Linked DNA regions of Homo sapiens: region 1 is linked to region 2. The links are contacts of gene promoters, found by promoter capture Hi-C in blood cells and fetal thymus (Javierre and others, 2016). All regions are on one chromosome and are shown on one strand. Each heading gives the region's core, a stretch centred on a gene start or on the middle of the fragment in contact. The rest is flanking DNA. Distances are from core to core; before and after follow the strand shown. Region 1 overlaps LINC02795 (long intergenic non-protein coding RNA 2795). Region 2 holds the start of COL24A1 (collagen type XXIV alpha 1 chain).

Region 1 (5,420 bases), core at 161-2,660, 130 kb before region 2:
CCATACAAACACTTGTATATAAAAGTTCTTCGCAGCTTTACTTGTAATAGCTAAAAGCTGAAAATAACCCAAATGTCTATAAACAGATGAATAGATAAACAGCTGGGTTACACTTATGTAATAGAATACTTCTCAGCAATAAAGCAGAATGAATTGTTGATATATGCTATAGCAGAATTATGCTGAGTAAAATTTAAAAGGTCAAAAAAGCATACATACTGTGTGATTCCATTCATTTAAAATTCTAGAAAATGCAAATTAATCTAGAGTGGCATAAATTAGATCAGCAGTTTCCTGGGCATCTGGACTTTAAAATTATGGAGGGGAATGAGGAAACTTTTTTGGGTGATGGACATGTTCATTATCTTGATTGTGATGATGGTTTGGTGAATGTGTATATATGTCAAAACTAATCAAATTGTATACTTTAAATATACGTGACTTGTTATATGTGAATTATACCTGAATAAAACTGTTTTATTTTTAAAAAGTTTGTATCTAAAAGGATAGTAAAACTACTCTCTTCTGAAGGCCAGATTTCTATACTCCTCAATTCTCTGGTGTAGAGATATGCATCCAGAATTTTTTTTAAAGCATGATGGAATGGCTTTGACAAAGCTATAGCACTCTGGCTAAATTCCTTATTTCCTAGGTGACCTTTTAAACTCTCATGCAGAGCCTTTTGATTCTACTTAGCACATTTCAATTAAGCTTGATAAGTTATAAACAATACATTTGAAGAGAGAATGGGACATAAAAATATTTGAGGGAGTCCCAGTGAAAAGTGATTATCATTACTGCAGGAAGTGAAAAGAATTTTGGAAAGTAGCTGGAATTTCACTCTGAAAGCATTATCTAGTAATGACTATTCATTGAGATAACCACGGAGAGCATCTTTTGTTTAATAAGTAAGGTTAAAATGTATGGACTACAAAAAGATTTATGTCAAAAATAAGATGAAAAAGGTTTTCAACTCTAAAGAGATGGTTCTTGGTTATGTGAAAATCTGATTTAGATGGCATACCTTGTTGACCCAGAATGAAATGCTTTTGAGGAAAGTCTTGAATATTACAGAAAGTAGTTGGATTCAAACTAAGTAAAATATTGGAAAGAATGTGAAAGAATATTCCAGCATTAGAGGCAAAATAGAAAGGTTCACTCCAATCCTTTTCCCTTTATGAATGTGCATGTGTCTTTGGTTTCCTAAAGTGCTTTTTGTGTTTAAATTGACAGGAAGGGAAGAACAAGTCTTAATGCCTTATGGCTCCAAGATCTGTTTTCCAGTCATTTCACATATGGCTCAGAATGTTAATAATGGAAAGTTGATCTATGTTGACTACTTGCCAACTTTATTACTTAAACTCATTCCTTGACAATACATCTTGTCCTTTCAAGGACAATTCTGGAATTAGGCTCAGAATTCTGACAGTATGACTCTTCTGTTACTGAAAATTACATCTATCATTTAAAGCATTTTATCATGCTAAACCTGTAACAAAAATTTTTGAAACATCACATTTCTAGGAACTCCTAAAGAAGAAATCATCCATTCAGTGAGAGCAAATGAACACTCCAACAGACTGAAACAAAGCATCTTTACAGGAGATGTGAATGCGAGAAAGCAAAGAGAACTACAGTCAGGGTCTCCGCTGGCATGGCCCAAGCCCACCGTGGCATGATCCAGAGAGACGAGTCAGCAGAGCACTATGGGCAGCTCCCATACTCTTCGCAGATCAACAAGCCAGCATATAACCCAGGGAGATAGATAATAGTGATGCTGTGCTCTGTAGAGGGTAGTGGCAACAGTGGGATTTCTTCTGGAATAAATCTGTAGTGAGCCAGATGTTTCTGCTGACTATATTACTTCTGACAGTGTATAATCCAAAATTGTTTCCTTGGCCTTCCAAAAAGTTTTATAAGCTCCCTAACGGCTGCAATAAATCCCTTTCTTCTTAAACTAGCTAGAGTGGATTTTTGTTCTCTACAAAACAGATCCTGCCACTAAGAACCCCACTAGTATTTGTTGCCATGATTAGGGAATAAGTTAAACCACTGTAAGGGGGGAAAAGCAGCTCCAAGTACAAGGGCTTAAATGTGTTAGAAGCTTCTTTCTCATATCACAATTCAAGATGAATACCTGGGCCATGCTCCATAAAGTCATCTAGATACCCAGGTTGCTGGGGCAACTCTGCCATCTTCTACATTTGGCTTTTCTCTCTAGGTCAAAAGTGTTTTCTCCAGTGATCATTAACTTCACTGGTTCCACATTCCAGGCCACAGAACGGAACAAAAGAAAATATGAAGGGCAAACAACTTTATTTTGAAAAACGTAAAGCAGAAGTCGTTGCTAAAACTTAGGCCCGGCGGGTGGCTGACATCTGTAATTCCAGCACTTCGGGAGGTCAAGGCAAGAGGATCACTTGAGCCCAAGAGTTTAAGACCAGCCTGGGCAACACAGGGAGATACGTTCTCTACAAGAATTAAAATAAAAAATGAAATAAATTAGCCAGGTGTGGTGATGCATGCCTGTAGTCCCAGCTACTTGGGAAGTTGAGGTGGGAGGATCTCTTGAGCACTGATCAAGGCTGCAATGAGCTATGATCACACCACTGCATTCCAGCCTGGGTGACAGAGCATGACCCTGTCTCAAAAAATAAAATAAAACCTAGAAGCTAAACCCAAACTCAAAGCCTTCTCAAGAGAATGTGGAAAATGTAACCTGTAACTGGAGTAGCCATTAATCTAGCCAAAACTTGATGGGCATGGGGTGTTCTCTTAGTAAAAGAAGAAAAGAGAAATGGACATGGGAAAAATTCCAAAACTTTATTCAAGAGGACATCATCAGCTTTTGAGACTTCAGTTGTCCCGGGCAAATGGGCTCTTACTCCCCTCTCTTTTCTTAAAGCAAAAATACCTGCAGGAAGCCGCAGAGCAGTGGAAAGATCAGAAAGCGTACTCCTCAGTCCCTCTACCTAAGTAGCAGTGAGATGGCCATAGCTATTTTTACCCTCTTACTAGAAATAAAACATTTAGATTTTGAAACACCAACTCCTCCTCCAATGTAGAGCATCCTCTGTGTAGACACTATGAGATATAGAAGTCAGCAAGGCTGGCCTGGCCACTGCCCTCTTGATGCTTTCATTCTAGGATGGAAGATTAATTTCTTGGTAGTTGATTATTTAACTAATTATTAAGAGTGCTCCAAGGAAGTACAAAATGGATATATGTATAAATGGATATGTGTCATAAGTAAATGGATATAAGTGTCATAAGTATATGACAGAAGAATTTGACCTAGGCTGAAGAGATCACAAATGCATTTTCCTCTTAAAGTGATATTTAAGTATATACAAAAATTATGAACAGATTTACCAGTGAAATTTATTTCTGCAAGTTGGCAAATTGTTTACATAACCTTCCTATTTCACTCTTTAGTTATGATTAGGAGTTTTTTTTTTTCACTTAAAAACATGTATCAAAATTGTTTGAGTAGGTATTCATTTACCTGGCTTAAACACAAAGTATGAAAATGTAGCTGGGCACCATGGCTCACACCTGTAATCCCAGCACTTTGGGAGGCTGAGTCAGGAGGATGGCTTAACTCAGGAGTTTAAGACCAGCCTGGGTAACATGAAGAAACCCCATCTCTACCAAAATACAAAAATTAGCTGGGCATAGTGGTGCACACCTGTAGTCCCAGCTACTTAGGGGGCTGAGGTGGGAAGATCGCTTGAGCCCAGGAGGTCAAGGCTGCAGTGAGCCATGTTTGCACCACTGTATTCCAGTCTGGGCCACAAGGTGAGACTCTGTCTGAAAAAAAAAAAAAAAGAAGGAATAAGAAGAAGGAGAAGGAGGAGGCGGTGGTGGCAGAGGAGGAGGAAGAGGAAGAAAAAGAAGAGGAGGAAGAGGAAGAAGAAGGCTTCTATGGGGAAGTTTAGGGAGAGTGGCTTCTCATACAGGAATTGTCTTTTGTAACATACAGGCTAGAATCTTCAATGTGCAAGACAATCAGTAAAGCTTCACCATTCAGAAACCAATCAATGTCCTTTTCAGTATCAGTTAAGTTACATCTTAGTTATGGAACATCAACAGTTTGAGGAACCCACTGTAAGATTTCAGGGATTCAGGATAAGTTTCTTTACTCAAGGATAGGATGTAAGCCATGAATCATAGACCTCCCCCAGGTGGATTAATTTGGAAACCTGCCAAATGTGACATCTAGGTTATCATATCCTTGATAAGAATTTGTATTTATCTGAAAGCTAATAAAAATAATTATCTTTCTTCTCATTTCAAATTACAGATAATAGGAAACTGTACACATTTTACCTCCTGCTCGAGCTTTTTTCACTTACTATAGCATGGAGATATTTTGATATAATATATTGATAAAAAAGCTTTTTTAAACAAAATTATAGTATTCCATTTTATAGATATACTATTAATGTATTTAACCAGTCCCTTATTGGTGAGCTTGTAGATCGTTTCCAATATGTTACATTATAAACAGTGCTTCAATGAATTATATCCAAATGTCATTTCATTCTTATGTGTTTGTATCTATAGGAAAAATCCTAGCCCATTTGAAATTTACCGTGGGTTAGGGTGTGAGGCATACATCAAACCACATTTTTTCTCCATCTGGCTTCCTGGTAGTTCCCAGATGACTCGTTGATAGCACCTCTTTTTCTCACTGATTTGAGATACCACATTTATTATATACTAAAACTCCGTATGGATTTAGGTCTATTTCTGACTGTACATTCTGTTGTGTTAGTCTGTTTGCCTATTCATATGTCATTATAATAATAATCACTGAGGCTTTATCTGACAGAGAAAAATCTTCCTTTGGTGCTTTTCTTTTGCAGAGATTTCCTATTTTTTTGTTTCTATTTCCATATGAGCTTTTTCTGTTTTTTGAGACAGGTTGTTGTTTTGTTGCCCAGGCTGGTCTCAAACTCCTGGGCTCAAGCAATCCTTCTCCCTTGGAATAGCCGGGATTACATGTGCATATCACCATGCCTGGCTTACTTTCATCTACACTTTAAAATCATTTCTGGTCTAGTCTGGTTCTAAAAAAACCCAGATTTTACTTTTATTGAAATCATATTAAATTTATAAATTAACTTAGAGAAGTTCGACATCTTGATAATATTGACTCTTCCTATCCAAAATGCCTTTCCGTTTGTTCATGACTTCCTTTTATCTTTCAAAGAATGTTTTAATGTTTTAGTCTGTAGAATACTCAGCCTTGAACATTTCTTTTTAGGCTCATCACCTCGCTATGGGGTCTTTTCTTCTTCTATTATATTTTCAATGAATATTGATTGTATACATGAAAAAATTTGCATATGAATTTTGTACCTTGCTAATTTTCTAAATGTTTTGTTTGTTTGTAGTAGTTTTTATTTGACCTCCTT
Region 2 (6,198 bases), core at 1,560-4,059:
TGCTTAATCTGTCTTGATCAATTGATCTATGCTAATCTCCATCATCCTATAATGTCTATAGCAGTTAAAACTTATATTGTTTATCTTTTACTGGACAAATGCCTCCTCTCCCCAAATAAAGTACTCTGTCTGAAGGTATGTGTGCTCTTTGGAATCTTCTGCATGATAAAGGTTCCACTAACTCTAACTAGCAACTGTCATCTTCTTATACTCAACCTGAAATACATTTTAAAAACTTCATTTCCTACAGCATTCTATTCTTCAGACTCAATATTGCAAACAGAAAAAAAGACTTTATTCCTGAAGTGTATCTGATGGAAAAATGGAGACAGAGATTGAGTTACTTAAGTCTACTCAATTTTCATCTATTGTTCTTTCCATCAAACCAAATTAGCTGTCCTTCTTTAGCTGACTAGTAGGAAAAAGCAGAAAAAACAGAAATTAAGGGCATTTAAGAACGGCTGCCTTCCCTCAGTCCTGGATTTCTAGGAATATTTCAGAAATCTGTGGTTATTTGTTACAAAAACTGGGGGAAGATTTTACAATGGCAAATCCTGTGAGATGAGCACCTTAACTAAGTGATCAAAGTGAATATCACTAGTAGGTGACATATTAACATCATGTACACCTGAGATTGATGCCCCGAGAAGGGCACACTATCACTTCAATGTTATTTATGACCAAAATACACAACCTGCACCCAATCATGAGACTATGTCACACAAATCCAGATTGAGGAACCCTCCACAAAATGACTGCTCAGTGCATTTCAAAAGTGTTGAGTTCGTGAAAGACAAAGGAAGACAGGACTGCCACAGATGGGAGGAGACTAAGGAAACCTAATAATTCAGTTAATCACTGTGTTAGTTTATTAAACACAGTGTAGGATCCTGAGTAAAATCCTGGACCAGACAAAGGTCATTAATGGGAAAACTGACAATATTTAATAAGATGTATAGATTGGTTATTAGCATTATATTGGTGTTGATTATCCAGGGATTTTATTTTTTATTTTTTATTATTATTTTTTTTTTGAGTTGGAGTCTCACTCTGTTCCTAGGCTGGAGTGCAGTGGCGTGATCTCAGCTCACTGCAACTTCTGCCTCCCTGGTTCAAGCGATTCTCCTGCCTTAGCCTCCTGAGTAGCTGGGATCATAGGCGTGCACCATCAAGCCTGGCTAATTTTTGTATTTTTAGTAGAGACAGGGTTTCACCATGTTGACCAGGCTGGTCTCGAACTCCTGATCTCAGGTTATCTGCCCGCCTTGGCCTGCCGTGCTGGAATTACAGGCATGAGCCACCACACCCAGCCCAATTGTCCAGTTTTGATAACTGTAATTTGGTTATGTAAGTTGTTAACATTAGGGGAAGCTGAGGGAAGTATATATAGGAACTCTGTACTATTGTGCAACTTTCTATAATCTAAAATTATTTCAAAATAAACAGTCAAAAAATTGAGGGGGGCATAATGAATTTCTATATTCTTGCATTTAAAAAATTACCAAGCTTGAGAGTCACATCAATCATTGTCATTCACCAATATGATCACTTTAACCTTTATAATGTGTGTGTAATGTGGGATCCCTTTCAGCATGTGGAAGGGTCATTAGCTCTGGAAGGCACACAGGCTAGACAAGAAAAATTTGGAGCAATGATTCTCAGTGATATGCAGCATTCATTCAACAGATATGCCAGGTAGGTGCTAAGAACACAACTATGAACAACACAATAGATTCCTGGCCTCTTGGAGTTTCCAGTCTTATTAATAAGGAAGATAAAATCAGAACGTTTGTTTTCTGTTTGTTTGTTTGTTTGTTTGTTTGTTTTTGTTTTTGCAAAAATCAGAAGGTGGATTTCTTAGTATAAGGCCATGGGGGCATAGAGACTTGTATCAAAAGAAGAAATTTGCTACAAAAGTTGGAGAAGGTATTCAAATTGTTAAGGTAGTGGTGTGTGCGTGTGAGAGAGAGAGAGACTGTGTGACTGTAGTGTGTGTGGTGTGCTCTTGCTGTGAACCAGTAATACTTGTAGACAGGAAAAGGCAGAAAGGTGAATTACAGGAGAAAAGTCAGTAGAAGGTCGTAAGGGGGACAGACTGAAAGGAAGGAGTAAAGGGAGGAAAGGTAGAAATGAGGACAGTTAAAGTCATTTAATAATACCACGTAGGCCACTGGCCTAACTGCAAAGAAGGCAAGAAGGTCGCAGGGTAATGAAGGCCTCCTCTAAGTGTGATTTCAGAAGATGTGGGTGAAAAGGGTAGAGAAAAAGATTGGGGATGAGAGAGAAGCAAGAGGGAAACATCAAATTGGGGACTGCTGAGATGGGGAATGGAGCATGAACATGGTATGGAAGGAAGGATACTAGCTGCCTATAAGTGGGAAAGGAGACCATCCGGGTCGTACCCAGGCGGAGGCGAGCGCGCCCGGGGTGCGGTGGCCCAGCCCGACCCCGAAGGGCTGGCGAACGGGGGCGCCTGGGCCGGACGCTGGGTCGGGGAAGGTTGCGGGGGCAGAGGGGGAGGTGTGCGCAGTGTTTGGTGATGTCATTGCAAGTCAGTGAGCGGTGAAATTTAACACCGGCCGGATTTGCTTGGCTCCTCTTCTTCCAGGCAAAGCAGCCGGCGGCAGTCAACGCCGAGCGCCTGCAGTTGCCACCGGCCCCCTCGCACCGACTTGATTTCCGAAGTGGGTGTGTGTGCTTGTTTGACAAACGTTCGGGCGCGGGCTGTTTCCAAGGACTTCCTCCCCCACTTCATCTCCTTCCCTACCCCCACCCCTTTCTCCTCCCAGGCCCAAAGCAGAGGACTCCACTGGAGTCACAGAGTCGCCTTTGAACCGCAAGTGAACTTGAGTGCTGCACTAGCAGCCCGGCTCCCGCTGCCGCCGGCGCCCCGAGGCCTCCCAGTGAGGTTTACCTCCTCGCCCGCCCTCCCCGGGGAGCGCAACCCTGGGCTCGTTCGTTACCGAGCCAGAGAGCTAGGAAGCCTGTCCTCCCCTTCGGGTGCTATTTCCTACCTCCTCCCGACTTCACCCCCTCCCCTCCTTTTTTTCTTGTTGCGGGTTTGAAGCATGGTTTTCATGTGATTGTTTTTTCCCTTTTTCATGGACAGTACCTGCACCCTAAGCAGTTCAGAGTTGGCTTCTGTTTTCCGTTAGCGCTTTGCTGCACGGACAAATGCATACAAATGCATTTAAGAGCCCACAGAACAAGGCGTGGAAAAGTCTCCCCCACGGCAAAAACGTAAGTAGCCCACCCGCCGGGTAGGGTAGGGGTTAGACCAACCCCTCTCTCCACCCCCTGGTTCTGCTGAGCCTGATGGAGATCTGAAGTCCGGCTCCTTGGCACTTTTTGGCTTTAGGAGCGGCCGAGTACCCGCGGTATCTTCCCCTTGTCTTCTCAGCTTGCAAAATACCGTGTTTGAAAGGATGCCTCGTGCCAGCAGATCTCAGACAGTTTATGCTAAAGCGATCTTTTGGCTCGAGAGGAAAAGCTCGCTGGCGCGAGTCCCGAGGTCCAGGGCAGCGGCTCCCTAAGCTCCAGAGCTGGGCTCCGACGATCTCTCTGGCTCCAGCTCCCGCCGCCCTCGCGCCCTCCTCCCCTTCTCCTCCCGCAGGGCCCTGTCGAGGTCCTGCTTCCCCGAGGTGCTTCTCAGGGCGTCCAGCCTGGCGATTGCTGTGACGCTAGAGGTCCCCCAGGGTCAGTGTGCGCAGCCTGGACCACTGGACTCAGGCGTGAGGAAGGGTCGCCAGCGGGGGGAAGGGGGTGGCTGCAGAACCTCGGGCGTCGGGGGGTTGTTTTACCCACGGGCTCAGAGGCAATCCCCTCTGGTTAGAAGGCCAACAAACGTTGCCCATCCGAGCCGAGGCTGCGCCCTGATCATTGCCCTGTCACTGGGGAAGTGGCACTCGCGGCGGGGACTGGGGAGGGGAGCAGGACACGGGGGCGGGCCTGCCCCTCCTGCGGAGGTTTTGGGCGGGTCCTGACGGGCACCCCACCTCCCCTTTGGGCGCTGTACCTGCTCCCATGCCTTCCCTGGGAAAAGGGCTCGGACCAGGGGTTGCGCGGCTTTGGCTGGATGCCCTGGTCCCCCTGGAAGAGGTCAGTGGGTTACACAAGTTTGCTTCTGGCCCCTGGGCGAGAAGGGTGAACGCGGCTGTGGAAGTCTTCTGCAGAGAGGCTGCCCCTCAGGAGGCTAGGTGGGAGGAGGGCAAGGAACAGAATTGACCGTGTCAGCTGAGGGCAGGCGGAGGCAGGGTGCGGAGAAAGAGCGCCTTGTGGTCGTGTTTGTATGAACATGTGCTTCCCAGCCGCGTGCAGCCCAGCCTGGCTGGGGCTCGCGCGCGCGCTCTCTTCCGACCCCTGGAAGCCTCGCTGCTGGGCTTCCCAGCTGACCACATGCACCTCCCCGCACACCCCCATCCCCATGCAACAGTGAAGAGGAAACCTCCCAATCTCCTCAACCCCGTGCGGGCAGCGGGGTGCTGGAGGCTGGGGAGTCCCTGGAGCGAGTAGAGGTCAAGCTCTGCGGGTTGCCTTCTCAGAGCGGCTCACGCAGGTCGCATGGGGTTCCCAGGCAGAAGATTTCCCGCCACTGTTCTCGATAAACATCCCTCTGTGTGGACCAGCCTGGAGAGTCGGGGGTTGCAGCCGATCCTGCGGAACTGACAGATCTTCCCGCTGATCAGGGGCGGATGCAGAGAGGCTCTAGCCCTGCCAGCCTGGAGACTCCAGGAGAGGCGGAGTGAGGCCCTCCACTTCTTGCCCAGCCAGCCTCCGCATGCGGCCCTCCTGCAGCTCCTGCCCCGAGGGCTTTCCCTCTGCCACCGCGCGAGGCCCACGCTGGTGACTAACACTCCCCTTGGTAGTTGTGACCAACCACCGGAGTTAAAGCAGATCTGCTCCTGGGTTTTGTCTTGTCTGGTTTACACTTCCCTTCCAGACGCTCCCAGAAAAGGCCCTGCATAAATTCTTGGGCAGTTTGGGGTTTGTAAATTGGGTCCAGATGATTTGGGGGGAGGGAGGCAGAGAAACCAAATAGAATGGATTGCACCGGAGGAACTTCTGAAGAAAAATTATAAAACGTGGAATGGGAAGAGAACCCTTGTGCAGAGACATGGGGATAAGTAGCAGGTTCTGGATGAAGGTGTTTGTCTCCCATGACCACCAGAGGCCTTGCAGCCCTTGGTTATCTCATAATATCCAATTTGTTCTGTTACAGGGGCCACTGGGGATGGGCTGCAGAGAATTAAGGGTAATTCATAATTACATCAGATTACAGAACTCACAGCTCCAACCACACATGCAAACTTGGGAAAGATAGCTAATGATTGGACTGAAAAAATTGTTTCTAGAAAATCCAATTTTCATAAATAATTTGGAATTTTTCCCTTTGAAAAATAATGCCACCAACCCTTCGGAGTTTGAGGCGGGGTGGGGCGGGGGGGCTGGATTTGGAAGAAGTAGCTGATTTATAATGTCAGGCCACTGAATTAAACCTTAGAGTCTCTGATGAAATCCCTGAGTTTTATTTTCCTTTTGTGGTGATGTTTTGTAAGAGAGGGAGCGCTTTTTAAAATCACAGTTCTTATTAGTCACCCAAAAACAGTTCCAGTTTAAAAGTGGATCTTTACGACACTTTCTTTTGTGGGGTCTTTTATATGGGTTGCCTAACGTGAATTTGTAGAATTAATAAAATTAATGAAATCTCAAAGTCAGCTTTAGATACCTTAATTTGACATATTATCAGAAGGTCTCTGAGGCAGGCTATTATGGTAATTAAAGACTTTTATAACCAAAAAGGAATTTTGGAATATAAAGATCTATTTCCTAGATGGCACGAAATTCTATTTTTTAAAGTTGCTTAGTTATATTTGTGTTCAAATAAATTTTTAAAATAAGCTGATGTCTCAGGGAGAGTAAATCTAATTTATGGAAAGTACTTTTGAGTGTCATTTAGACATTCTACTTGGTAATTTGTGAACGGCAGAATAAAAGTAAATGTTATTATGGGAATTAGAATAGCTGTGCTAGTTTCCTTGCCATGCCTTCCAACTATGACTTATTTTAGAATTTGTAACTCTAATGAGAAGTAAAGACAATTTTATTTTCATTCTCATAAAAGGCTAACATTATTCTGTCATTCATTTATTCATCATTCATTAACGTATTTATTCAACACATGTTTACTGAGCTCCAACT

What was found. Contacts are between HindIII fragments. The CHiCAGO score rates a contact against its expected background, and 5 or more counts as called.
Region 1: a fragment that was not itself captured here is called in contact with the fragment with the promoter of COL24A1 in region 2 in 1 of 17 cell types (megakaryocytes); the score reaches 6.1 in megakaryocytes.

Annotation. Positions count from the first base shown.
Region 1 is chr1:86,285,244-86,290,663 of GRCh38, reverse strand. It overlaps LINC02795 (long intergenic non-protein coding RNA 2795), which reads left to right. Exons shown (of 4, transcript NR_187380.1): 4 at 1,525-1,957. Among named protein-coding and RNA genes, the nearest start is that of LINC02795, 32 kb to the left of the region's middle. The HindIII fragment of the contact is 1,393 bases long and covers 714-2,106 here.
Region 2 is chr1:86,153,383-86,159,580 of GRCh38, reverse strand. COL24A1 (collagen type XXIV alpha 1 chain) reads left to right here and starts at 2,809. Exons shown (of 60, transcript NM_152890.7): 1 at 2,809-3,240. The coding sequence starts at 3,185. The HindIII fragment of the contact is 10,806 bases long and covers 1,509-6,198 here.